4 separate regions of the Homo sapiens genome follow, and all the other regions are linked to region 2. The links are contacts of gene promoters, found by promoter capture Hi-C in blood cells and fetal thymus (Javierre and others, 2016). All regions are on one chromosome and are shown on one strand. The core of a region is centred on a gene start or on the middle of the fragment in contact, and the rest is flanking DNA. Distances in the headings are between cores, read along the strand shown. Region 1 overlaps SUFU (SUFU negative regulator of hedgehog signaling). Region 2 holds the start of PITX3 (paired like homeodomain 3). Region 3 overlaps SUFU (SUFU negative regulator of hedgehog signaling). Region 4 overlaps SUFU (SUFU negative regulator of hedgehog signaling).

Evidence for each region. The method cuts DNA at HindIII sites, captures the fragments that hold promoters and counts their contacts. A CHiCAGO score of 5 or more calls a contact.
Region 1: a fragment that was not itself captured here is called in contact with the fragment with the promoter of PITX3 in region 2 in 1 of 17 cell types (activated CD4 T cells); the score reaches 5.2 in activated CD4 T cells.
Region 3: a fragment that was not itself captured here is called in contact with the fragment with the promoter of PITX3 in region 2 in 1 of 17 cell types (activated CD4 T cells); the score reaches 6.9 in activated CD4 T cells.
Region 4: a fragment that was not itself captured here is called in contact with the fragment with the promoter of PITX3 in region 2 in 7 of 17 cell types (erythroblasts, activated CD4 T cells, total CD4 T cells and 4 more); the score reaches 7.7 in erythroblasts.

Annotation. Positions count from the first base shown.
Region 1 is chr10:102,620,826-102,627,039 of GRCh38, reverse strand. The region is part of intron 10 of SUFU (SUFU negative regulator of hedgehog signaling); the gene reads right to left. Among named protein-coding and RNA genes, the nearest start is that of TRIM8-DT, 19 kb to the left of the region's middle. The HindIII fragment of the contact is 4,153 bases long and covers 1-3,946 here.
Region 2 is chr10:102,237,845-102,244,327 of GRCh38, reverse strand. It overlaps PITX3 (paired like homeodomain 3), which reads left to right and starts at 2,816. Exons shown (of 4, transcript NM_005029.4): 1 at 2,816-2,995. It also overlaps a transcript of GBF1 not described here. RefSeq lists a silencer at 2,665-2,954. The HindIII fragment of the contact is 9,988 bases long and covers 1-6,483 here.
Region 3 is chr10:102,506,259-102,513,029 of GRCh38, reverse strand. It overlaps SUFU (SUFU negative regulator of hedgehog signaling), which reads right to left. Exons shown (of 12, transcript NM_016169.4): 2 at 3,727-3,861. Among named protein-coding and RNA genes, the nearest start is that of SUFU, 5.7 kb to the right of the region's middle. RefSeq lists an enhancer at 724-863. The HindIII fragment of the contact is 640 bases long and covers 5,202-5,841 here.
Region 4 is chr10:102,599,383-102,605,343 of GRCh38, reverse strand. It overlaps SUFU (SUFU negative regulator of hedgehog signaling), which reads right to left. Exons shown (of 12, transcript NM_016169.4): 8 at 5,800-5,911. Among named protein-coding and RNA genes, the nearest start is that of TRIM8-DT, 41 kb to the left of the region's middle. RefSeq lists enhancers at 425-1,624, 4,842-5,592. The HindIII fragment of the contact is 3,650 bases long and covers 2,887-5,961 here.

The DNA of each region.
Region 1 (6,214 bases), core at 621-3,120, 380 kb before region 2:
AGTGTTTGAGGCCTGTCCCCAGCTGTCATTCCCCCCACACCCTCACCTCCCTGCAATATCAGACTGAGGCATAGAAGGAAAGGGGTCAGGGGACAATGGGGAGGGGAGGGAGGACACTGGGAGAGCTGGGAATGCTGCTCCCAGAAGGGAGATGAACACTGGTGGGGCCGGTAAAAAGGAATCTCAGGAAGAAAAAGGAACAGAAAAGAAAAATTAAAAGGAAAAAAAATTAAATTAAAGCTGCTGCCCAGTCAGGCTCTAGTGTCCCCCTCTGCCCCTCACCGTAGAAGGACAAAAGGAAACTGTTTGGATTTGGAATACAAGCCCTATCTGGAATCTGGAAGTGCCCTGGAAGGTACATCCAAGAATGTCTGAGCTGGAGAATCTGGAGATTGTGGACCAACGTCTCATTTTACAGATGACAAAGGGACTCCCAACTTCCATTCCCATTCACAGTAGCCACATCCTCCCAGGCTGGAAGCTCCCAAGCCCCTGACCTGCTGTGCTCGATCAGCCACTGAGTTCCTCCAGCCTTCTTTGAGGTTCCTCTTCTCTAGGTCACCTCCCAGCATTCCACGTTGCTGTTCTAGTCTGACACCTCATTGCCTCTCGCTTTGATGCTGAGTCTGGCCCCACTATTTGGCTGGCACAAACACCAACTTCATCCGCTAAAGAAGTTTTCACAGCCAATACCAACGTCCAAGGGCTCTCAGGCCCTCTAAAACCGGCCTTCCTCAATCTGCTGGGCCATTCTTCCCCACCCACCCCTCTCGTCAGGCTGCTAGGCAGAGCCAGGCCAAGCTGATCCCAGGTCTGCACCCCACCACGCCCTGGGTGAGGGTGTCTTTCCTCTTCCAACTGTGACCCCTTCCTTCACCCCTCCCCCTCCCTGTCCTTGTCCCCAGGGCCTCCCAGCCTCCCTCCACTGCAGACCCTTCTGTACCCCCAGGCCACAGCTCTACCTGTCTTCTCCCGTACACCTTGAGCACCCAGGTAGGGCACAAAGGAAGAAAGATAATGGGGTGAAGATCCAGGTGAGGGGCTCCTCTGAGGGGAAACCCTCCCTGTGAGGAGGAGAATTGAGAACTTGAAAAAATACCCACCAGGTTTCCCCTGGGAATTGTCAGCTGCCAAGAACAAAAGTTTCCACGCTGTGAGATAACAAGGAAGGAGTGCACACAGGAAGGTGAGCACACAGGACGGCTCGGGAGCTCACAGGACGGAGGTCTCTAAAGCAAGAAGTGGACGGGGTGGAGGAGGGAGTGAGAAATAAGAACACTACCCCCAAGTGAGCAGAAAAGCCGCCATCATACCGGGCATGCTAACTGCTCATCTCCATGTCTCCTTACAGTGGAGGAAACAGGCACAGGCAGGTTATGTAATTTGCTCAGTGTCACACGGCTTGTGAGTGGTTAAGACCATATCCTGATCATGTCTGGACTCTCAATTTAGTGCCTGGAGTACTGCTCCCGAATGCTGAACTCTCACCCCCAGGACACTAACTCATCCATTCATCCTTCCAGGGACACAGGCATGAAGGCAGCTCATTTCCCACCAGGACAAGCACCCTCTTTTGGCTGGCAAGGAGACAAGAGACCCAGCCTTCCCAGGCTCCAAGCCCATAGCAGGAACAAAATAACTCTGACCACTGGTCCACGTCTCCTCACCAAACTCTCTGTTCTAGGAGCTAGGGCCCCGACCAAGGACAGAGACAAGGCTTAGAGACAGAGCAGGAGAGGCAAAGTTGGCAAAGTTCGGGGAGGTGCACCCCTACAGTTCTTCCTAATTCCCCAAAGTGGGACTGGCCGACTCTGCCCACAGACTCCAGCCATACACGTACTCCCTCTCACAGCCTAAGCCCTTGCTCCTCCTACTCTCTTATCCCAGGGGTGTCCTCCCCAAAAGTTCAGTTTCCCCACCAGTTATCACCAGTCTGCTCAAGCAATACAAAAGTTACATTCATATTTTTGGCATTTCCGGGGCTCGTTGCCATCTCTGCAAATGCTAGCACAAACACAAGCATACCTAAAACCCAATTATATTACAATGGCTCCAGTCTGGGCCGGGCTGGGCTAATTTCTAACTCACAAATAACTTGGAGGGAGGGGCTTTCTGCCAGATCAGTAAATAGATGTGGGACTATAACAAGTGCTGGGGGTGAGATGGGGTGGAGGGAGGACAGGAAGAGGGGCAAGGGTTCACAGAGGCTGTGGCCACCCAGTGAGACGCCAGAGTTATTCTTCAAGGAAACGTAATGCCACCAACACTGAGTTCAATTCTAAGCTGGTTCCCCTGACAAAGGTCTGGAACTGGTGCTAAGGAGAGGGTGAGTTATGGTGGCTTTTAGTAGAGCAACGACCATGCGCGGCACCATCTGTGTGTGGACTTATTTTGGACTCGGTTGGGGGAGGGGATGGCCAGATCAAAAATGAGGACAAACCCTAGCTGCTCCTCCATTTTTGCTTTTGGTGATTTGCTGGTTCCCGCTGGAAACTTCACGTTATTTTAAAAGAATTAAAGGGGAAAAATTATACATGAGATCTACATGATATTAAAGGTGACATTCTCTGCAAAGAAACACGACAGACTGTCATAGCTCCAGGCACCTAATTTAATTTCCTTTGGGAGTTAAACCTTAGAAGGTTGGATTGAACAAACAGGCCCTGTTCTTTGTATATTTCAGACCTGGAGCTGAGAATGTTAACAGATCTTATCAACAGGACACTGGAGATAGACAGCTAAGATGGGGCAGCTCCTGGGAGCTCTCCCGAGTAACAGACTTGCCCTTGTGATGCAACTGTGGGAAAAGCCTGTGCAGTTCTGGGGCTTGGCACTCCTGAGGCTCACTGGGTCCCTACAGAGCTGCTTGGCTCTGTCACGAATAATAATGGGAATGGTGATGATAAAAATGACAGTAAAAATGGCCAATAGCAGAAGCAGTACCTCCACCATGTGCTAGGCGCTGTGCTAAGAGCTTGATCAGTGTCATTTCATTGAATCCTTATGGCAGTTCTGCTAGGGAGGTGACTATCATCCCCACTTTGCCCAAGGGTAGGTACCCAGAGGAGACAAGGCTCTGGACTTTTCTTTTTATTTTTTAGATGGAATCTCTTGCCCTATCGCCCAGGCTGGAGTGCAGTGGTACAATCTTGGCTCATTGCAACCTCCGCCTCCTGGGTTCAAGCGATTCTCCTGCCTCAGCCTCCCGAGTAGCTGGGATTACAGGTGACCATCACCATGTCCGGCTAATTTTTGTATTTTTAGTAGAGATGGGGTTTTGCCATGTTGGCCAGGCTGGTCTTGAACTCCTGACCTCAAATGATCCATCCGCCTTGGCCTCCCAAAGTGCTGGGATCACAGGCAAGAGCCACCACGCCTGGCTCAAGGCTCTGGACTTTAGAGGAACGGCTATCTGATCTCATGGTGATAGAGGATGCTCTTTTCCTGTCTGGGGAAGACACCCCAACTGTAGAAGCCTATATAGATGGGGATAACTTCTCTGTCTTCTGATGAGGGAGGTGAAGGTAGCTTTGGTTTTTACCAATGACCTGGAAAATCAGCAGTCCCAACCTCCACCAGCCACACATTTCCTGGCCACCTGCTCAACTTAAGAGGGCTAGAAGCCTGAGAGTCACAGACACTGCTAAAAAACCAGACTGGCCAATGAAAAGGAAGGCAAACCAATGCCCAGAGATGGTTCCCAAGTGGGGACGGTGGGGCAAATTCCCAGGCCAGCCTAGTGAATACATATATCTTGACAGTTCTCTAGCCCAGAAAGTAGCAGTAGAAATAATATTGATAACAGCACTCACTGATATTTGCACTTACCAAGAGCCAGGCAGAAAACACTTATGTTTGTACACAAACAGCCCTCAGAGGGAGGAGACCCTCTAGTAAGAGAGGAAGACCCTCAACCAATCTGAGCAGCACACTCCCCTGGGAAGCTTCTGAAAATATGGCGATGCTAGGCCCCATTCACACTTCCTGAATCAGAATACTCTGGGGTAAGGCCAAGGCCCATGCTTTTTTTTTTTTTTTTTTTTTTTTTGAGACGGAGTTTTGCTCTTGTTTTCCAGGCTGGAGTGCAATGGCACGATCTCAACTCACCGCAACCTCTGCCTCCTGGGTTCAAGTGATTCTCCTGCCTCAGTCTCTCAAGTAGCTGGGATTACAGGCATGTGCCACCATGCCCAGCTAATTTTTTTTTTTTTTTTTTCTTCTGAGACGGAGTCTCACTCTGTCACCCAGGCTGGAGTGCAGTAGCATGATCTTGGCTCACTGCAAGCTCCGCCTCCTGGGTTCATGCCATTCTCCTGCCTCAGCCTCCCAAAGTGTTGGGATTACAGGCGTGAGCCACTGGGCCCGGCCAGGGGCTGGAGTTTTGTCTGCTGTTTAACAGCAGACAAACAAGCTGGGACTACAGGCGCCCGCCGCCATGCCCGGCTAATTTTTTGTATTTTTAGTAGAGACGGGGTTTTACTGTGTTAGCCAGGATGGTCTCGATCTCCTGACCTCATGATCCGCCCGCCTCGGCCTCCCAAAGTGCTAGGATTACAGGTGTGAGCCACCGTGCCTGGCAATTTTGTATTTTTAGTAGAGATGGGGTTTCTCCACATTGGTCAGGCTGGTCTCGAACTCCCGACCTCAGATGATCCACCCACCTCAGCCTCCCAAAGTGCTGGGACTGATTACAGGCGTGAGCCACCGCACCTGGCCAGCACTTGTATTCTTAAGTGGTGCCCCAGGAGATCATGGTGAGGGGCTGCTGGGGAAATACTCAGGCCCACAGGGAAAGGGGGTTTGGGCACAGGCTTAACCAACAGGGGTGAGTTGGTGGCTGTAGCTTCACCACCATCAAACGGGCTGAGCTGCGAGGGGGGCAATGGATCTTGGTTACCCCCAGTTCCCACCTTTGGCCAGGGAGGGGGGCTTGGAATCTAGGCCAGCAGCTACTCCAGTGGGCTCACACCAGCTGCCTTAACCAGCTTGGCTGGGTGGTGGTGAGGGAGGACTGTCAACAACCTCCCAATTCCCCAGGCCCCAGCAAGTTCCAGAAAGGAACCCGAAAAGTGATCTTGTGTCAGTGCCTGCCCTGGGCAAGCCAGGCTGCACTGCAGGCAGGGGCCCAGCTGCTGCAGATCTGACGCCGATTCAGATGTCTGTGGTCAATGATATTTCTGAGTCTGCAAAGAGTGGCTGACAATGCCCACTCCTTCCCTTTGGTATGACAATCCACACTTTGTCCAGGGCATTGTTTGTTCTTCATGTTGACACGTTGTACTTGCTTCCCAACAAATTTGGCTTTCTTTTCCCTCCCTTTCCTCCTCTCAGGGAAGGAAATGTGTTGTTTACAGTGGAAGAGCCTGCCAAGGAGCTGCTCTGGCACCCACGATGGCAGTGGAGGAGGCAGGGACGGGGAAGCAGTCCTGTCTGCATCCCTTCCCTCCCACCCCCACTCCACAGGCCAGACAAAAGCCAGAAAACAGCCTGGAGAACACCCCCAACCCAGGTCAGGGACAGAGGCGTGTGGTGCGGCAGGTAGCGGGCTGCAGTTGGGGCACAGGTCTCGCTCATTTCCTGTTCTTAGTGGGCGGTGAAAAGTTGGCTCTGGTGGCCAGAAGCGGGCTCAGACTCCTGCTCTGGCTGTGGGCTGCCAGGGACACAGGGCGGCATCACAGTCCTTTCCTACAAGGGAGGGTACTTCCCCAGGCGCATTGCTGGGCTCTAAACCTTAATGGGTGTCCCCCTGGACAACAAGGTCTCGGGGCAGTCCAAGCAAAGGTCTCCAGGGAGAATAAGTATGCCTGGGTTCACCCGTGGAAGGAGGAACAGTAGAGGCACCAAAGAGGAGGTGCCCAGGGCATGGGCTGGGGATTCCCAAGTCATCTTCTACACAATATCCAAATGGGTAGCAGAAGGCAGGGCTTGCCCAGAGGAGAGCTCGGCAGCACCTTCCCAAGCCTGGCCTGGAGCAGCAGAGCCCACTTGGAACAGCTGCTGGGCGTCTTCTCCCACGCCTGGGGCTTCCCATCAGGACTGGCAGAGAATGGCTGGGACTAGGGGCGCAACCTGGGTGAGCTGTCAGACACCACACAGCTGAGAAAGCATTGCGGGGCCTAAAACAATATTCTCATATTTGGTGATGTGACCCCTATGTGACCGCTGGGGCTGAGACTTATCCCCCTTCAGATCAACCCTGGCTGGGGACGGATGA
Region 2 (6,483 bases), core at 1,567-4,066:
TGGGAGGCAGTGAAAAAAAAATACCTAATTCTTTCCATACATCCTCCCAATTATGGACGACCCAAGTCCAGGGAAGCTCTATAACTAACCACATAGGAAAGTAGTCTCAAAACCAGACATCCAAAGACCATCCGTGTGCTACGATGCGCTATTTTTTTGTTTTGTTTTGTTTTTTTGTCTTTTGTTTGTTTGTTTGTTTTGAGAGAGTCTTGCTTTGTCATCCAGGATGGAGTGCAGTGCTGTGATCTTGGCTCACTGCAACCTCCACCTCCTGGGTTCAAGTGATTCTCCTGCCTCAGCCTCCCAAGTAGCTGGGATTACAGGCATCTGCCACCACACCAGGCTAATTTTTGTATTTTTAGTAGAGATGGGGTTTCACCATGTTGGACAGGCTGGTCTCGAACTCCTGACCTCAGGTGATCCACCCGCCTCAGCCTCCCAAAGTGTTGAGATTACAGGTGTGAGCCACCACACCTGGCCACGATGCTCTAGTGTAAAGCACCCATCAGATATCAGACGTGAAGAACCCCTCAGTAACTTCCTACACCTGCACATTGGGCTTCTGGTCGGTGGGTCCAGCTGAGGATCTAGCCTCTATCACCCAAAGAGAGTCAGGGAAAGAGGATATACCATCATAGCACCTCTTTCCACATTACCTCAAAGCCATTTTCCTCTTCATTTGAAAACTGAGAGTTGGTGTCCTGGGCCTGTCTCAGATTGAGAGGTCCTGGAAAGCCGATTGGAAAATCCTCTAAGTGGGCCAAAAATTTCTGCTCGCCAATATCTACTTCTACATACCTCCAGAAATTCATCATTCTAAAAGCATGTGATTGTGCAATAGAGATGGGGAGGAGAGAGATGACAATTCCCTAGTCCCTCCTAACCACTAATCATCATCTTACCAGGCAGAACATCTTCCTCATAGATTTCAGTGTGACATTTATTGAGATTCTACATTATGCCTGGGAATAACAGACATGGTCCTTACCCTCCTAAATTTTATTATCATAGCAGACAACACATAAGCTGATCCCTTCAATATGGTGGGTGGTGTAATAGAAGGTATACACTGAGGGTCATGAGAGCAAGGGGCTAAACTGAGAGTTCAGAAAAGGCTTCCCAGAGAAAATAAGACTTGAGTGGAACATTGGAGGAGTAGGAATTGACAATATAAAGATGGGTTACTTTCACAGGAAGGGCCAGAGGTGTGCAGGACACTACTAGGAAATTGGAGATGAAGACAAGGTCAGGTCCTGAAGGTCTTGTATGCCAGGCTAGGGAGCTTGACCTTTATCCTAAGGGCAATGGGAGTCACTGAACAGTCAAGACATGACTGCTCAGATTTGCCTTAGGGGCATATTGTGTGACTGGGCTTAGGCTCTTTTTTTTTTTTTTTTTTGAGACAGAGTCTTGCTCTGTCGCCCAGTCTGGAGTGCAGTGGCGCGATCTCAGCTCACTGCAAGCTCTGCCTCCTGGGTTCACGCCATTCTTCTTCCTCAGCCTCCCCAGTAGCTGAGACTACAGGCACCCGCCACCAAGCCCGGCTAATTTTTTGTATTTTTTAGTAGAGATGGGGTTTCACCGTGTTAGCCAGGGTGGTCTCAATCTCCTGACCTTGTGATCCGCCCGCCTCGGCCTCCCAAAGTGCTGGGATTACAGGCATGAGCCACAGTGTTTGGCCTGGGCTTAGGCTCTTCGGAGCACCCAAGCAACATAGCCTAACTGGGAGAAGAGAAGGAGCCTGTTTCCTGGAAATTGAGGCCTAAGTCAGAGAGGGCCGAAGTCACAGTCTGCCAGGATGTTCCTTGGTCATCTGTCCTGTCCCTTGCAAATTCCTAACCAGCAGGCACCAAGGCCACACCTTGCCCACAGGACTTAACCTGGTACCACCAGCGGGAAACCAGCCCTGCTGAAGGAGGGAGAGCACAGCCTAAGCAAGACAAGGGTACAGACTGAAAGGCAATGCCTTTGGAGTGCCCAGCCCAAGCCCTGAGATCCAGCAGGAACCTCCTCTTAATTGTTTTGCGCGGGGAGGGAGATGATAGTTACTCGTCCAAGTTCACTCAGTGATGGTGCAGTTCGTGGCAGCGTTGGAATACTACTTTGGTTTGTATCATTCCAAACCCTGCTGTCTCCACGAAGTCACCTTCCTTGGAGAAGAAGGGGGAAATGAAGAAGAGGAAAGATATGAGGAAAGAGGAGCAGAGAGAAAGAGAAATGAGTCTTTTAAAGTGGCAGAGGAAGGAGAATGGTAAACAGCAGGAGCGAAGCGGCTGAGGAGAAAGAAGAGGAAAGAAAGGCGAGACGTGGGAGGATTGGAACAGAGACAAAAGGGAGGAGAGACGGACAGCGACAAGTGGAGAAAATCGGCGAAACTTGAGTGGCAGAGAAGTCTGAGCGCTGAGACCCGGCGGCCCCGTGCGCCTTCCCACCTGGCGCCGATCCACTTTCCTCGGGGTAGCGGCCCAACCCACTTCGCTGCCAGCCGATCCCTTTTACCCGTGGCTACCGGGACCACTCTACTCTCGCCCACTTGGCTCTGCCTAAGCGTCCTAGCCGGAGCGCGGTCTCTGCCACGTGGGGAGGGGCGCGGCCGAGTTGCTGAAGAGCGCTTCTGATTGGCCAGAGGGCGGGGTTCTTGGCGTCTCGCCGGCCAGACCCCTCCCTCAAAGGCGGGGCCTGGAGATCCACAGCTGGAAAGGGCGGAGCCCCAGCAGGGCAGCTGGAAAGGGGCGGGGCCTGACGCGCGCGGCTCGCCGCGGCGGGCTGGGGGCGCCCTGGTCTGCCATAAAGTGAATGGGCGCCGGCTGGGGGTGGCAGTACGCGGTGAGGCTCACTCCCTCCGAGAGTCCAGGAGCGCCCGAGCGGAGAGGCGGCCCGGGAGCAGGGGGGCGGCCCCCACTCCGGCCGGGTGCCCGGCCCCTGGCCCCTGCCTGCCCTCTAGATCGCCGCCGCAGCCGCCGCTACTGGGAGTCTGCCTGTTGCAGGACGCACTGTGAGTGTTTGACCATTCTAAGGACAGGGGCTCATGGGGCCGAGGAGCTATTGCTGGACCTTGGAATCCCTAAAACGAGACCTGGGGCAGCTGAACTCCGGTGCCTTGGGAACAGGTCGAGAATGGGAGGGCGGACTGCAGACCTGGGGCCAGGACTTGGGAAAAGGGAAACTCAGGGTAAGAACCAGGGGATAGGGAAGGGGGAGACTCAGAGGATCCGGAACGAAGCCGGAGACTTGAAACCAGGATAGGGGCTTCGCGAGGCAGGGAGTAGGGAGTCTGGAAACCATTACCAGAAAGCGCCCTGGAATCCCAGGGCACGGGGCAGGCGGCCAGGGAGCGAAAGGGGTTACAGAGGCCCTGGCCAGCGGGGGAGCTGGCGGGGCGGCCCCCAGTGTGGGGGCAGTTGACGGCGCCCGATGCCCCTCGGCCTAGGCTCAGACTCCTGGGGCTGGGAGCCGGGGTGCGCCTGGTCGCACACGCTTCTCTTCCCAGCTGCTCCGCAGTTGGAATAGGAGCTGTGTTGTGAGAGCCCGGCCGCGACTGAGTCAGATGGCCGCTGTGCGGATCAGAGTGACCAGGCGGCGGGTATAGTGGATCTGGCTTGGGGTGTCTGGGCCCAGAAGGGTCCTGACTTGAGGCCGCCTCAGAATCGGACAGAATGTCCGCGGTGCATGGGGCTCGGAGCGGACAGAATGTCCGGGTAGCGAAGTGGGTCTCTCCGGAGCGGGAGTTGTGTCTGGCAGTGGCGGACAGAATGTCCCTGGCTGGGTGGCATGTCCGTCTACCCAGCAGCGCCTGCCCAGCTGCTGCGTGTGCGATGGGGTCGGCTGCGGTGGGTCACCTCAAATCCCAGCTCACACTTTGCAAACTTGTTTCAGCTCCTTCGGGCTGCGAAGCTGTGAGCAGGGAGCGAGAGTAAAGGCTACAACCTGGCCTTGGGGTGAGGTGGGCTGGGACACATGCCCCCTTCAATTCAGAATAGATCAGAGCATCACTCTGTACTTCCAGAATCCAAATTTGAGGACAGAAGGCCAATGAGGAGCCTGCTAGTGGGAATCAAGACCAGGAAAGGAAGGAATAGGTGACAAAAGGCAATGGGAAAACAGGAAGGAGCTGGGTACAAGCCCCTGGCAGCCTCAGTTGCCCCCTAATTCCAATACAATTAACCAGACACCCCCCAGACTCCTTGCTGGAGTATCAGGCGACCAATGGCTCCTTCCCTACAGTGGGCAGGAGCCCAGGCCAGAAGAGAAAACTACAGCCCCATTAGCAAAGCAAATCCTGTGGTCCTGTTTCCCTTTTTCTTCCTCAGCCCTACCAGTCCCAACACCACCCTGGTGGCTGAGCGGAGGTGGGAAGGAGGCTCATGGAATCCAGACTCTGGAGTCCAACAGGGGGCTATCTGGCCCTCTCAGTCTGGTTGGGAAGGATATCTTGGCCCTACCTAACAGCCGGGTTTACTTTCCCTGCAGCTGGGATACAGCCCTGACTCTGCTGGGCCCATACAGTGACCATCCACCCTGACCCCAATTCTAACCACAGCTCAATTATGCTGAAGAGGACAGAACAGGGAGAACGAGTCCATATAAGTGAGCAAGATAGCCCAGCTGGGGACTGAGTTTTCACAAGGACAAGTGCAAGGCATTGTATTTAGCAATGAGTAATCTAAACAGTGGTTTCAACCTTTCTTACCCTTCACCTGTGAGTGACATACAATACGTATTCCCCATACTCCCATGTCCATTCCTCAGTTCTAAAGTTTGCTTATTACTGGCTAGGATTCTCAACTTTTGTTTTTCATTTGCCCTATTTTGATCAATATAAAGACACACCACAATTATCCCCATCACATTCTGATACACTTTTCAGGGGCTTGTGCTCCCATTGCTGTGCTCCCATAAAATCACTGAAATTATAGGTGAAATGAAGGACTCTGTGTCAGGAAAGGAACAGGGAAAGCATTACAGATGGTTCCCTGAAGACTTTAGCTCAAAGTTGGCTTTTGCCAAAAAGGCCAAAGAGGTGGTATCATAATGAAGGTGATTGGAAACAAAAGACAGAACCTTTTCCCACCCTTGCATAAAGCCTTGTAACTGAACGCATGCCTGGTCACTGGCTCTTAGGAAGAATGTCATGGGCCTAGAGTAGGGTCAGAGAATGATTGGCAGAATGGGGAGCCAGGGGTTGCTGGTGAGGGCAAATTTCAAAGTTTAGTCCTCTGGAAGGTGAGACAGGATGGAAATCTACAGCATAATAAAAGACCTAGATATGCAGAAGAATTGCTTGCTCCCCAAATCTTGAAACTGGAGATGAGGGGGCCTTTTAGAACTGGAGTGATGCAAGCTCAGGATGAATAGAAAAATGTTCTTTGGCACACAGTGGGCAGCATACTTCCAGAGCTCATTTCCAGAGAGATGATAGAGGCAGGAAGTAGAAATGGAATCCTTCAGGGTTTGGAAGGATCAGCACATGTCAGAGTCACAAATGGCTACAGGGTGGAGGGAGTGAGGCATGGAAAGAGCAGAACTAGATGGTTTGAATCTCTTCAAATCTCTTCAAACTGTGTAACCTTGCATCCTGCCTTCTTAGAGGTGTAATGGGGATAGGCACTCCAGCCATGCAGGGCAGTTGTGCGAGTTAAATGAAATTATGTCTGTGAAGGCCCTCTGCAAATGGAGGAGCATCATATAAATAAGAAGCACTGCTATTATTATGCCCAAGCTGCAGAATCTTTGTTTGGAAAAGTGGGGCTGAGACTTAGAGCAGCCTAATCTCATCCCTGATGCAGCCATAGGAGGGATCTTAATGACAGACGGGCCACCCTATCGTGGACTTCAGATGCTGGCCACTACCCCTGCCGCTGTCTGAGAACTCTGGGGAGCTCCCCAAATGCTCAGCCTGTCTACCAGGCCAAATATCTCTGCCTGCCTCCTGCTCAGGGATGGGAACATTGGCCCAGGACTCAGGTTCAGGACGGGAGGGCAAACGCAGCAGGCTAGAGCTGACTTGTGGTGACTGAAGGATGGGGCCAGTAGAATCTTTTCTTCTCCATTCACACTAAATGATGCCTCCTAGACTAACCTGAAGGATCCATTAGGTCCTGAGCTTTGGGGTGTCTAGGGTGTCCATGGCCACTGCCAGGGACTCATGAAAAGAATGATGGGGAGGAAAAGGAAAAGATCATCAGTGGGGTAAGAGTTGGGGGAAGACAGAGAGGAATAACTTTCAAAACTCTATCTCTCCTTTCCCATTGTCCTGCCCCGGGGCCTTTTTTACACCTTTCAGTTAATAGTTTCTCCTTTCCTATTTCTTCCCTGCCCAACCCTTTATGCTCACCATGGTCAAATAAAGGTCACAAAGATGCTGTTTTTTGTCACACCCCTGGATACAAGCCTCCAGTGACCCCTACTGCTTGGTGCATTGCTTCTCATAGTGGGGTGGGCGGGGGAGGAGGGCAGTACGGGAGTGGAGGAGGCATGACACAC
Region 3 (6,771 bases), core at 4,272-6,771, 270 kb before region 2:
GTAGTGCAATTATGGCTTACTGCAGCTTCAAACTCCCAGGCTCCAGTGATCCTCCCACCTCAGCCCCCCAAGCAGCTAGGGCTACGATGCACACCACCATGTCTGGCTAATTTCTGTATTTTCTGTAGAGATGGGGGAGGGTCTCACTATGTTCCCCAGGCTGGTGTCAAACTCCTGGGCTCAAGCGATCCTCCTGCCTTGACCTCCAAAGTGCTAGGACTATAGGCATGAGGCACCATGCGCAGCCTATAGAAGTACTTTTGACTTCTGCAACATAGACCAGAACTGGGTAAATATCTGAGAACATTCCTTCCACATTCTTCTAGTGCCAGGATGTAATACTGGAAAATACTAGGCTTGATTGGTGACATGAAAACCCAAATAGAGGTTTCACTCTTGTCATAAATGACATATGAATACAAAGTGCTGTACCATGTAGAAATGAAACACATGTAAGAGGATAGTATTAAACCAGAAAAAAACAATAAGAAAGGTCCTATTTCAAATTAAGAGGTTGCCCCTTCTGAAATATGAGGCTTGCTCAATCACATTCTTCATGTTATTTTGGGCCTTGGGCCTATACCTAGCAGGTAGACTGGAAGAATCCTTAAGCCACATAGGAAATGATATTCTTTTAACCAGAATAAATCTGTCAACAAAAAGGTACAGGCTAGCTGCACTAAATACTCTCTGCAGGTTCTTATTAAAAATATAAATTAAGGTCCAGCATAGTCTCTTTACTCCCCACATCTGTTTGCTATTCTATCTCCATTATTAATACTGTAATGCTGGGTCCCCATTCAGGCAAGATTAATTCCCTCTTCCCAAATCCTTCTGCTGACACTGCAATGAATCCATTTGGAAGGCTGTAAAGGCAGCTGCAGACATTGCTCCCAACACGTGACCAGCGAAGAGATGAAACCTGGGCCTCTGAGCTTAACAAGAGAGAAGAGGAAGTTGGGTTAGGCCTGTGTTCAGAGAGGTGGAATAGCCCAGTGGTTAAAAGCTCAAACTCTGAGGCTGAATACAGTGGTTCACGCCTGTAATCCCAACACTCTGGGAGGCCAAGGCAGGAAGATCGCTTCAGCCCAGGCATCTGAGACCAGCCTGGGCAACATAGTGAGACCTCAACTCTACAGAAAATTTGAAAAATTAGCCAGGTGTGGTGGTGCATGCCTGTAGTCCCAGCTCCTTGGCAGGTTAAGGTGGGATAATTGCTTGAGCCCAGGAGGTTGAGGCTGCAGTGAGCCATGACTGAGCCACTACACTCCTGCCTGGGTGACAGAGCGTGACCCTGTCTCAAAAAACAAAACAAAAAAGCTCAAACTTTGGACTCAAACAGCCCAATTCAATCCCAGCTCTTTTACCCCTAGATCTGTAACTTTAGCAATTCATTTAACCCCTCAAGAGACTCATTTTTCTTATCTATAAAATAGGAATAACGAGACCCTGATAAGATTGTAAAGCATTTAACACAATGACACGGAAGACAGTAAGTACTAAACAAAGGGAAAAAAGGCTATCATCATCTTCTTTATGATACCATCATCATCTCCAGAATTGGTCGCTATGCAAAGGCAGGACAGGACGAGTCCTGCTACTCTTTCAACCTGCCCAGGTTAAGCAGCCACCACCAAGATAGAAAAGACATGGTATAAGGGGCAAAAAAGTACAAAAGGCAAAAACCAGAAGAGGATATGACAATACAAATAAAATCAGCTCTTGATTAACCATGCTAATGAGGTTGAGGGAAGACTATTTATTTTATTTTTAATTGACAGAATACAAACATAGAAAGATTACATTTAAATTGAAGAAAAGAAACTCTCCATCAAAAGAATATAAATAAAAAAAACTTTGTTTATTTTCATTATTATTATTATTATTATTACTTTTTTTTTTTTTTTTGAGATGGAGTTTCACTCTTGTTGCCCAGGCTGGAGTACAATGGCACAATCTTGGCTCACTGCAACCTACTCCTCCCAGGTTCAAGCAATTATCCTGCCTCAGCCTCCCTAGTAGCTGGGATTACAGGCATGTGCCACCACGCCCGGCTAATTTTATTATTTTTAGTAGAGACAGGGTTTCTCCATGTTGGTCAGGCTTGTCTCAAACTCCCAACCTCAGGTGATCCGCCTGCCTCGACCTCCCAAAGTGCTGGGATTATAGGCGTGAGCCACCACACCCAGCCTAATTATTATTTTTTTAAGACACAGTTTCACTCTGTTGCCCAGGCTGGAGCACAGTGGCACGATCTCAGCTCACTGCAACCTCTGCCTCCCAGGTTCAAGTGATTCTCGTGCCTCAGCCTCCGGGGTAGTTGGGAGTACAGGCACATGCTACCATGCCTGGCTAATTTTTTGTATTTTTAGTAGAGACAAGGTTTCACCATGTTGGCCGGGCTGGTCTCGAACTCCTGACCTCAAGTGAGCCACCTGCCTCAGCCCCACAAAGTGCTGGGATTACAGGCATGAGCCACTGTGCCCAGCCAAAAAAAATCTTTTTAAAATATAGATGGTAGCAGGCCGGGCACAGTCGTCACGCCTGTAATCCCAGCACTTTGGGAGGCCGAGGCAGGCAGATCACGAGGTCAGGAGATCAAGACCATCCTGGCTAACATGGTGAAACCCCGTCTCTACTAAAAATACAAAAATTAGCTGGGCGTGGTGGTGGGTGCCTATAGTCCCAGGTACTCAGGAGGCTGAGACAGGAGAATGGCGTGAACCCGGCAGGTGGAGCTTGCAGTGAGCCAAGATCACCCCACTGCACTCCAGCCTGGGCAACAAAGCGAGACTCTGTTTCTAAAAAAAATAGTTGGTAGCTTATTGGAGTACATGATATAATTGCTCAAAAGGCAAGAGAATACAGTCATTAACAGTATGAACTCTGAGTTGGGCACAGTGGCTCACACCCATAATCCCGACACTTTGGGAAGCTGAGGTGGAAGAACTGCTTAAGCCCAGGAGTTTGAGACCAGCCTGGGCAACATGGTGAAACCCTGTCTCTACAAAAAAATTACAAAAATTAGCTGGGCATGGTGGTGCTTGCCTGTCGTCCCAGCTACTCGGGAGGCTGAGGTTGGAGGATCACCTGAGCCTAGGGAGGTCGAGGCTGCAGTGAACCATGATCATACCACTGCACTCTAGCCTGGATGACAGAGTGAGACCCTATCTCCAAAAAAAAGCATATAGGGCAACAAACGGAAGCAGACTAAGATAAAAAAATAAATAAATACAGGTTAAAAGGAAGTAGGTAAGATAGATAAAGGATAAGAGATGAACAGATTTGTGATAAAGCAAGTATAAAGTTAACAGTAGAATCTGGGTTGTGGGTATATGAGTGTTCACTATAAAATCCTTCCAACTTTGCTTTATGTTTAAAATGTTTCATAATAAGCTAGGGGAATAAAAGGAAGTAGACACAGAGGCATCAGCCCAAGTTCTGAGTCATAACCATGCTACCTTCCTGTCCTATGAGCCCAAACTCCAGGGCAAGCTTAGAAAAACCTGATTTGGGAATCCTGCTCATCAAGACTTTCCTGCACTAGATAAGCAGGAATCAGGTGTTAACGAGGACCACCTTGGCATGAGTAGATATAGTCAGAGGGCAGAAATGCAGAGGTTCCACGGAGAAGTACCATGCTCACAGCACTATGACATTGTCACCCCTGCTCAGGAAGACCTCAGGAATAAGGCTCTGGATAAAGAACAGGTGGCATATACTCACTCATGGACTCTGTTGTCACCATAGAGATCACTCAGGCCGAAGCTGATGTAGTGCCAGTGCTCGGGGATGTTAGCAGAAGGGCTCCCCACATTCCTGTACATGCTAACATAGTCCAAGGGGTCTGGGCCACCCAACCTGCAAAAAACAAAACACAGGGGTGTTAGTGTAAGCCTGGAAATCAGACAATGTCAAGCTAAGGCGCTCTACTTTGTAAACCTAAAGGACCCATCCTGGAGGAACCTGGGTGAAAGGTAACTAAACAGAGGCCACATCTCTCCAGAATGAGACTAAGGGATGGACAGCTAAGGCTGCCCAACTCTGCAAGCCCAAGAGGCTCCCTTCTCCTACCCCTGAAAGACTGGGCCTCTTTTAGAAATAAAACAGACTGGATGGTTACCCATTTTGCTTTCTCCTGTTTCAAATTACCGATCCCAAATGAGATTGGCAGGGATTGTCTCTCTTCTGTGGTGCCTGTATACATGCCAAGCTTCAAGGCAAGAGGTACATCAGTCAATCAATTGGCCTCTGTTGAAAGACCATCCCAAGCATCCCCAATGGGCATTGTTCCTGGAAGCAGAGGCTCTGCTCCACTCCAGCCTCTTAGACAGCTAATTCCTGAAAGACTATATTGTGCCCTATGTTAATTACAGTTTGTTCTAAACAAACCCAAAGCCTCTAGTCTGTGCTGACACCAGCCTGCACCCCATAGACCAAAGCTGGTCTCTTATCATTGCAAGTGACAAAGGCCAAACTTAGGCTTAACTTAGTTCTGCACAGAGAACTGCAGAAGGAGTCAAACTGCGCCCTGTGAGCATCTGCACCCAGAAAATGATCCCAGGAGAGACTGCCACATCAAAGGTAGAGCTGGGATGGTAAATGATTTGGGGCCTCTCAGGACCACATTAAATTTCCCCCACCATTCAACTGAGAAGGAGTTGCGGAAGAGATTCAGTTATTATCTCACTCTGAGGATTTAATACAATAAGAGTTCCCTTTAGTAATCAGTGCTTTTTAAAAAAAATCCTGTTTTGGCCGGGCACGGTGGCTCACACCTGTAATCTCTGCACTTTGGGAGGCCGAAGTGGGTGGATTACTTGAGGTCAGGAGTTTGAGACCAGCCTGGCCAACATGGTGAAACCCCATCTCTACTAAAGATACAAAAAATTAGCCAGGTGTGGTGGCAGGTGCCTGTAATCCCAGCTATTTGCTATTTGAGAGGCTGAGGCAGGAGAATCGCCTGGACAACAGAGGCAGAGGTTGCAGGGAGCCAAGATTGCGCCACTGCACTCCAGCCTGGGTGACAGAGTGAGACTTTGTCTAAAAAAAAAAAAAAAAAAAAAAATGGATAAGAAATTTTGGTAGCTAGAGAAATAGACCAAATAGAAACCATCAGTGGAAGGAAGTCTGCATTTAGCCCACAAACACGGCATTTGAGCTGCCTCAAACATCTGACCATTCCACAGACTGCAAAAGCTTCACCTGCCCCTGGGACATCGATGGAGTACACTTTGCAACTGGGATAGCATGCTGGTGGAAAGCTAACAACCAAATAAAAGACATGTTACAAGTGATCCCAGTCAATGGTGCCAGCACCAGGCAATTTAAACACTATTTAAAACCAGTTGGTCTTGTTTCGTCCTCTTTCACCAGGATATTATTTGCCTTTGTGGATAGAAATCCCTATTCTCTGTTAGGAAATGCTAAGTTATTTATAGAACTTTTAAGAAAGTTGCTACAAATAGCTTAGCATCTCAACAGAGGAAGAGGGACAACTCTCCATGTCTGCCTTAACTGATTTCAACAAATCACTTGACTAATTCTACAACAGGTTGGATTTAGAAAAGTTTGTGGGGCAAGGGAAGAAAGAAAAGAGTAGAGATCCCTGGAAAGACCCCATTAGAGCTACAGAACTCCAGAGCAGATGAGAGCCACTACAGGCCCCATACCTGCTCCAGTTTCCTGCTGCAAATTTCCAAACCTGCCCCGCTACAGCCTAGGTCCATCCTGCACCAAGCTGCAAAACTGTGTTTACCATTCTCTGCTCCATCTGCAGCATCCCTGCAGCCCTCTTTCTCACCAAGTCTCCCACAAGGTGTCACATCAAGGAGAGAAGCTTAACCTTCAAACTCCAACTGCAAGGAACTACCAAGAGTCAGATAAAATTAACCCTGTCCCCAAGCACAGAGTATTCTGTTTACTTACTACTCAGAGGCCAGATGAGTATGTGGAAAAAAATCGCATTTTACACTTAGCAAATGATGTTATCCAAGGTCCCAGGGCATCCCTCAACTTAATTCCTTGAACACCCAACTTCTCTCTGCAGGGCAGTTGCAGGACTGAAGTGGGCCATGAGTACAGGTTCTGCCTCTCTGCTTTGATCCTTGCTCACCAAAGTCTCAGCTTTCAGTTAGAATGTCCCCACTACTCAGGGATCACCAGTCACAGAGCCACACTGCTATTGCAAAATGAATCCCAAGCTACCCTGGGCCACAGACAGACCCAGACAGCCTGGGTCAGTCATCCTGCTAGAAACCTCGTGGGATCCCAAATGTGAGGAATATAAATGAATTTCAGGATCTTATTTTTGCAAACCCCTCCACATCTTAGAAAGTACCAGTCACTGATGGCTGGTCGCACTGGCTCACGCCTGTAATCCTAGCACTTTGGGAGGCCGAGGTGGGTTGATCACTTGAGGTCAGGAGTTCGAGACCAGCCTGGCCAACATGGTGAAACTCTGCCTCTACTAAAAATACAAAAATTAGCTGGGCAAGGTGGCGTGTGCCTGTAATATCAGCTACTTGGGAGGCTGAGGCACGAGAATCGCTTGAAACCGGGAGACAGAGGTTGCAGTAAGCCAAGATCGTGCCACTGCACTCCAGCCTGGGTGACAGAGCAAAACTCTGTCTCAAAAAAAAAAGAAAGTACCAGTCACTGTGCTGTTTCTCTTTATACTTTTCTGCATCTAGGAAGGGCTTTCACAAAGTGCTGTATAATCCCTTTTCTTCATTATCACATGTTGGCCCATCTCTGAAGATATGGCTGTTA
Region 4 (5,961 bases), core at 3,462-5,961, 360 kb before region 2:
GGGGTTTTGCCATGTTGCCCAGGCTGGTCTCGAACTCCTGGACTCAAGAGCTCTTTCTGCCTCAGCCTCCCAGAGTGCTGGGATTACAGGTATGAGCCACCACACCCAGTTTAAAAATGCAATATTTGGCAGGGCACAGTGGCTCATGCCTGTAATCCCAGCACTTTGGGAGGCTGAGGCGGGCAGATCATAAGGTCAGGAGTTCGAGACCAGCCTGACCAACATGGTGAAAACCCATCTGTACTAAAAATACAAAAATTAGCTGGACGTGGTGGTGTGTGCTTATAATCCCAGCTACTCAGGAGAATCGCTTGAACACAGGAGGCAGGGGTTGCAGTAAGCCGAGATTGTGCCACTGCACTCCAGTCTAGGTGACAGAGTGAGACTTCACCTCGTGTTAAAAAAAAAAAAAAAAAAAAAAAAGGCAATATTTTCATCGGGAATATCCCAAAGGTAAAATGTGATCATGAAATCATGAAATGGTGGGACAGAGTATGGCTAAAGAAGTCAGGGTGAGTAAAATCTGCATCAAGGTTAGGGGATTTCCTAGTCAACTATTAACTCCTCTGGGCACCAGGGGCCGCCATCCCCAGCCCTACCCTCTGACTTGGGTGGGAGATTAGGACCCCTACTCTCCTGAATGAGCTTACTCTAGCCAGAACCCCAGCTTTCCTTTTTCTGAGACACTGAGTCATTTCCTTTCTCTAGCTCTTACCTTTGAGCCTTCCTTTTCCCTTCCCTGGAGAAGTGACTCACTGCTGAAGTGTTGGGTGACACCGAGGATCAAGGATGGGCGATAAAAATACCCCTGATTGTGCAACTCGAGGGAGGGGGATGCAGCGTTTGGACTGAGAATTCAAGCACCAGCAAGGAATTCTGAAGTTGAGGTGTTAACAATGGCCGTGACTTCATCTCTTTGGGGAAGCGGAGCAAAGAACGGAGTTAAAACAGAAATTTACCCATGCCAGACTTGCTGTGGAGCCCCTTGCTCTGCCCTTTCAAATATGTATTTCTGAGAAAGGCCTGTAAAGGCACTTGGCATGACAACATGGATCACAGTGAGGGAGGCAAAAAGGAGCCTGCTGTCCAGGACGCAGGGAGCAGAGAGGCCTGGGCTGTTCCTCTCATCAGCCCTGCAGAGTCTGGCTGGGGCCCTAAGAGAAGGGCTGTTTCTTTCTGGGCTTTCTTTCCAGTGCAAGCAACTGTACTTCCCCAGCGTGGGAGTGTGAGGGAAGCCAACGTGACAGAGAGGGCTCCAGGCTGGCCACTGCGCTGACAGGAGAGACCCCTTGAAGCAGGGTTACCCAACACTGCCCTTCGTGCGAGCGGCACCAGCCACAGCCCAGCTGTTTCCCCAGATGGAAACTCACCTTCCTTCACCCCAATTCACTGGTAAGTTGGATGCAAACAAGATATTTTCTTCCTCTAATTAATCTTCATGGACCTCACAAGCTGAGCAAAACAAAACACAATTTTCTCTAAAGGATGACTCCCTGGCCAGGTTACAAGGTATTCAAGATGGGAATTAGAGGGAGCAAAGTCACCCCAATCAAAGGCCAAACAGACAAGTGCAGAGACACTCCTAAGAGTAGAGAGAAATCTATGTATATGTGTGTGTGTGTATGTTGGGGAGGTGTTGCAAATGTGAATGTTACAGCAGAGGAATTCATGGTACAGAATCTTAATTCTCCATGAAATTAAGGCAAAAAAAATTTTTTAAAGGTCTTAAAAGCTGCTGGTGTGATTCTAGAAGACTGAGAAACTCAGCAGTGATGGTGAGTTCGCTTTTTAGAGGTGCCTCAACTACAAAGTGCTTCTCCCATAGTCAGGAACTTTTCCCCTCTAACATAAGTGTGCACACCTGCATGTGCCCTGTCCCTCTCTGGGAGGGCACACAACTCAGAGAGCTTCCTAAGAGTTCCCAGCCTCAGGTGGTAAGTCACTGGCTGAGGGAGGAGGTGGCCCTAGAATACTGGTGCAGGTTCCCAGCATCTGAGCAACAGTTTAGAGAAATACAGGCCAGGTGTGGTGGCTCATGCCTGTAGTCCCAGCATTTTGGGAGGCCAAGGTAGGAGGATCACTTGAGGCCAGGAGCTCGAGGCTGCAGTGAGCTATGATCTTGCCACCACATTCCAGCCTGGGTGACAGAAGGAGACCCTGTGTCTAAAAAAAAGAAATAAATAAAAGAAAACCTCTACACACAATTCACCTGACCACACGTATCTTCTGTGCACTGTAGAGAGACCAGACTCCGTAGACCATGTCTGACCAGGTGACCTCAGACAGAGAGGATGCCCAGGAACTTTTCCCTCCTCAAATCTCTACAGATATTGGCAGGCACAGTCTTTAAGCCAGGCTGTCCTCATGTGGCACAAAGGAACTGCTTCCCATCCTTCCCAAACTCACCCGAGCAGGCAGTGGGAAGGGAGGCGCCAGCAAGCTGAAGGAGGCTTTTCTCAACTGATCATCTTGGGAAAAGCCAGATACAGATTTCATGGCTGGAATGCAAGGGTTGTGAAATGCTGAAGAAGCCCCAAAGAGGGCCAAGGACTCTCCTTCCGGGAAGGCAGTGGGAGGAGGGCTGGCAATGAAGAGTAGGAGAGGAGCGGGTTACCCAGGGGGCCTGCCTTTCTGGAAAGGAAGAAATAGACCCTCAAAATGGAAAGAAATCCCCTAGCCCTGAGGTGGTAGAGGGACCAGAGAGAGGGTTGTTTTAGTTTCTGCACATGAAGAAAGTAAGGCCTTGTGTCACAAAATAATTTTGGTATAAATGAGCCAATTATGACATAGCTTGTTATTTCTGGGATTTGGAATCATCAAGGCTCATGGCATCTCATAGGAGTTATTTAACTCCCCTAGAGTTTAGTTAAATAAGCCCAATAAGCTTCTAATATGAGGCTTTGGCCTTGTCCTTGGTGCCATGTGAGAGGTCCTGATTCATGCTGCAACTAGTTAGATGAATTCTACCAGTAAAGGTCATTATTTTCTCAGAGACACAGTCTGATGTGTCCCCCATGGGGTCCCTGAGAATGGGGTAAGGAAGATTACATCCATTTTAATGGCTGATAGATGGCTGTAACTAAGCTCTACCCCTTTCCAACCTTGGAAAAGATACTTATTAGCCTCTCTGTACCTCATCCATTAAAGGGGAATATGTAAGATTATCGACCACAGGATGGCTATGAGGATAAGATAAATGAATGGCAGCACATAGTAGCTGGCACATTACCTAGCACAGAATGAGCACTAATAAGGTTTTAGCTGCTGCTGAAGTGTGAAAAGAGCAAGTGCTTGACACCCCCAAGTAGGCCGGCACCCGGCTGCTATTGCCCAGGCTTGATCAGCTGCTCTGAGCCTCTGATTTAGCTCTGTATCTTCCTTAGACCACAGACAAACCCGCGAAGACCCATGCATAAGAGCTCCCTGGCCCAGAAGTCCTGACTAAGGGGAAATCAGACCCGCAGACAAAATATGGCCCACGCTGGCTGCCCCCCAACAGGGAGAGGAGCAAACACTGGTGCCAGCACATTTTGGGTCAGCTTTCTCAGTTGCAATCCATGTGGTGTATGTGAAATGGGGTCAGGTCCCAGAGTGGGCAGCACAGATATTACCGTCACGCTCACTGATCTGAACTGAGTCCATCATCATCGATCCTGAGATAACAGGAAACTTGAGTCTGACAGGCTTGAGGGGTGTGTTGGAGAATGTTCTTGGCAAAGGAGGAGGAGAAACCATTTCTCAACCAATTGCTAACAAATTGGTAACCAATACTGACAGCCTCAGAGGAAACATTCTATTCCCCTCAGACTACAGGTCCTGGTGCTTTAGAGACCTTACTGGGCACTAAACCTTCAGGAAGGGGAGACAACCCCGGCACCTCGAATCTATTCTCACCCATCTCTCTGTATCTCAGCCAACTCAAGCCAAAGGGTAGAAGCTGCAGCCTCTCTGCCTTATGTTTACAGAGAACCCTTGGGCCAGAACCAATACCCGACTGCCCAGTTAGGGTGTAGGCTGAGAGTCTCGGCTTATGTGTATATCTAGGAGCACAGAGCCTTGTGCCCCATTGCAATGTCCAGGGGTGCAGTAGCTGGAAGTGCCCCCAAGCCAGGGAGTGAGATCTCAGGCCTGTTCCAGATACACAAGCGGGGCAAGAAGGTTGTATCTCTGCAGGAGCTTGTGCCCTTCTGCCTAGAAACCCCAGGCTTCCAGAGGCAGAGAGCCATCTGGACTGAGACTGTGTCCATGTTATAGGCCTTCCAGTACCTCTGGCCTGCCAACAGTGCCAAGGAGGCCCAAAGCGAGAAGCCAAGCTCAGGGAATGGGAAGGAGTGTAGACCCGGGACAGGGTCCAGACTCACAGGTAGAGAGCTTCCATATGTCGTATGACCTGGTGTGGCCATCTGCTGCTGCCAGGGGATGATCAGGATGCCTCCAGCCAGCTACTTCAGGGCAGCTGGCTGGAGAAACCTACAGGCCGGAGTTAAAAGCTGCTCTGAGGTGGCGGTGGAGGCTTCTCCAGGCTTTTGCCAAAGAGCTCAACTCTCAGTACAGCCCTGTTCCCAGAGTAACTCTAGTTCCAGTCAGGTCCCAGCAGGCAGCCTCAACTTTAACCAGCCAGGCCTCCCCTGTGCTATCCTCTTGAGTTCCTTCCCCTGCTTATTAAAATTCTAAGGTGCCCTCAAGGTCGATGCTATGTTCTTCCTCCTCCAAGATGCCCTCCCTAACTACCCCAGATCCTGTGGACCTGTCTTTTCTGTAGTGCACTGAAGCATTACTACTTCTGGGAAACACGATCAGCAACTAGAGCTAGAATCCAGAGAAGCAGCCATTTCCAACAAATCACATCGACAGCCAGATGCACACCATTAAAAGGTAACTGTTTCACTCATGTTCTCCCAAAGGAAGAGCCTGTGCACCCCAGATGGCCCCCTAGGTCCGAGCTTGTCAGACAGCAAATGTGTAATAAAGACTTCATAGAAGAAGGCTAGATCACCCTGGTCTTGCAGGATGATCAACCTCCCTTTCAGCCCAAGGCACAGCAATTTCCTCCCTGGCAGGCAAGGTTCCTGCTTTGGGCTGCCAGCCCCCAGGTATCTCCTGCCAGCAGCTATTCCCTAGAGCTGCCCTGGGACTAAGGGCAGAGGGGGGTGCCCAGCTTCAGCCCTGCCTATCACTCATCCCCTCTATCAGAGGAAGAGAGGTTGGCAGGAAGCGGATCTGACCTCTAGGGTGGCCACAGTCTCTCCGGAGGGCTACAGGGGCCCCTGGACAGGCAGCAGAGGCCTGCAAAAGACTTCCTTTCCCTTCCCTGGGCCCCAGGGAAGAGAGGCAGGAAGAAGGGCCTCAGCCACAGGCATCCAGTATGGGGCTGGCCAGAGAGGGAGGCCCCCAGGGTTGCAGCTATCAGCCGGAGACCAGGCTCCAGGAAGGAAGGAAGGGCAACTCTGGCCAAGACTGAGATAAGGAGGGAACCGTGCTCAGCACAATGGGCTCCCACAAGGCTGGGAGGCCCCAAGTCAGATTTCTCCCCAACCTGGCCTCCTGTCTGTTCACACGGCTCATGTAAATATTTACTGATGTTAATATTCACGGTCTGCTGGGTCCCCTCTGAGGCCCTCTCCTATGACCCACAGATAGATCTGTGTGCCCCAGACCATGCCTGCCCTTAAGCCTAGAGATCCTGGGCCCATCCAGCAAGGGCTATGTGCATTGTTCTCTCTCATGCAATCCACAGGGACAGGCCCTTCAGAAAAAAGTCGTCCTCTTGTTCCAGCCCAGGGACACTGGGGAACTTACGGGGCCCGGTCGTGGGCGAGGCCATTCTGCCGCTGAGGGTTGATTGGTGGAAGGACAGGTTTGCTGTTGATCTCGAGTCCTCTCCTCAGGGTCTCCCGGATCTGCTCTGTGTCTGCAACGACACCACTAAGTTGCCCAGTGGCCCAGTGGGCTCCCAGCAAT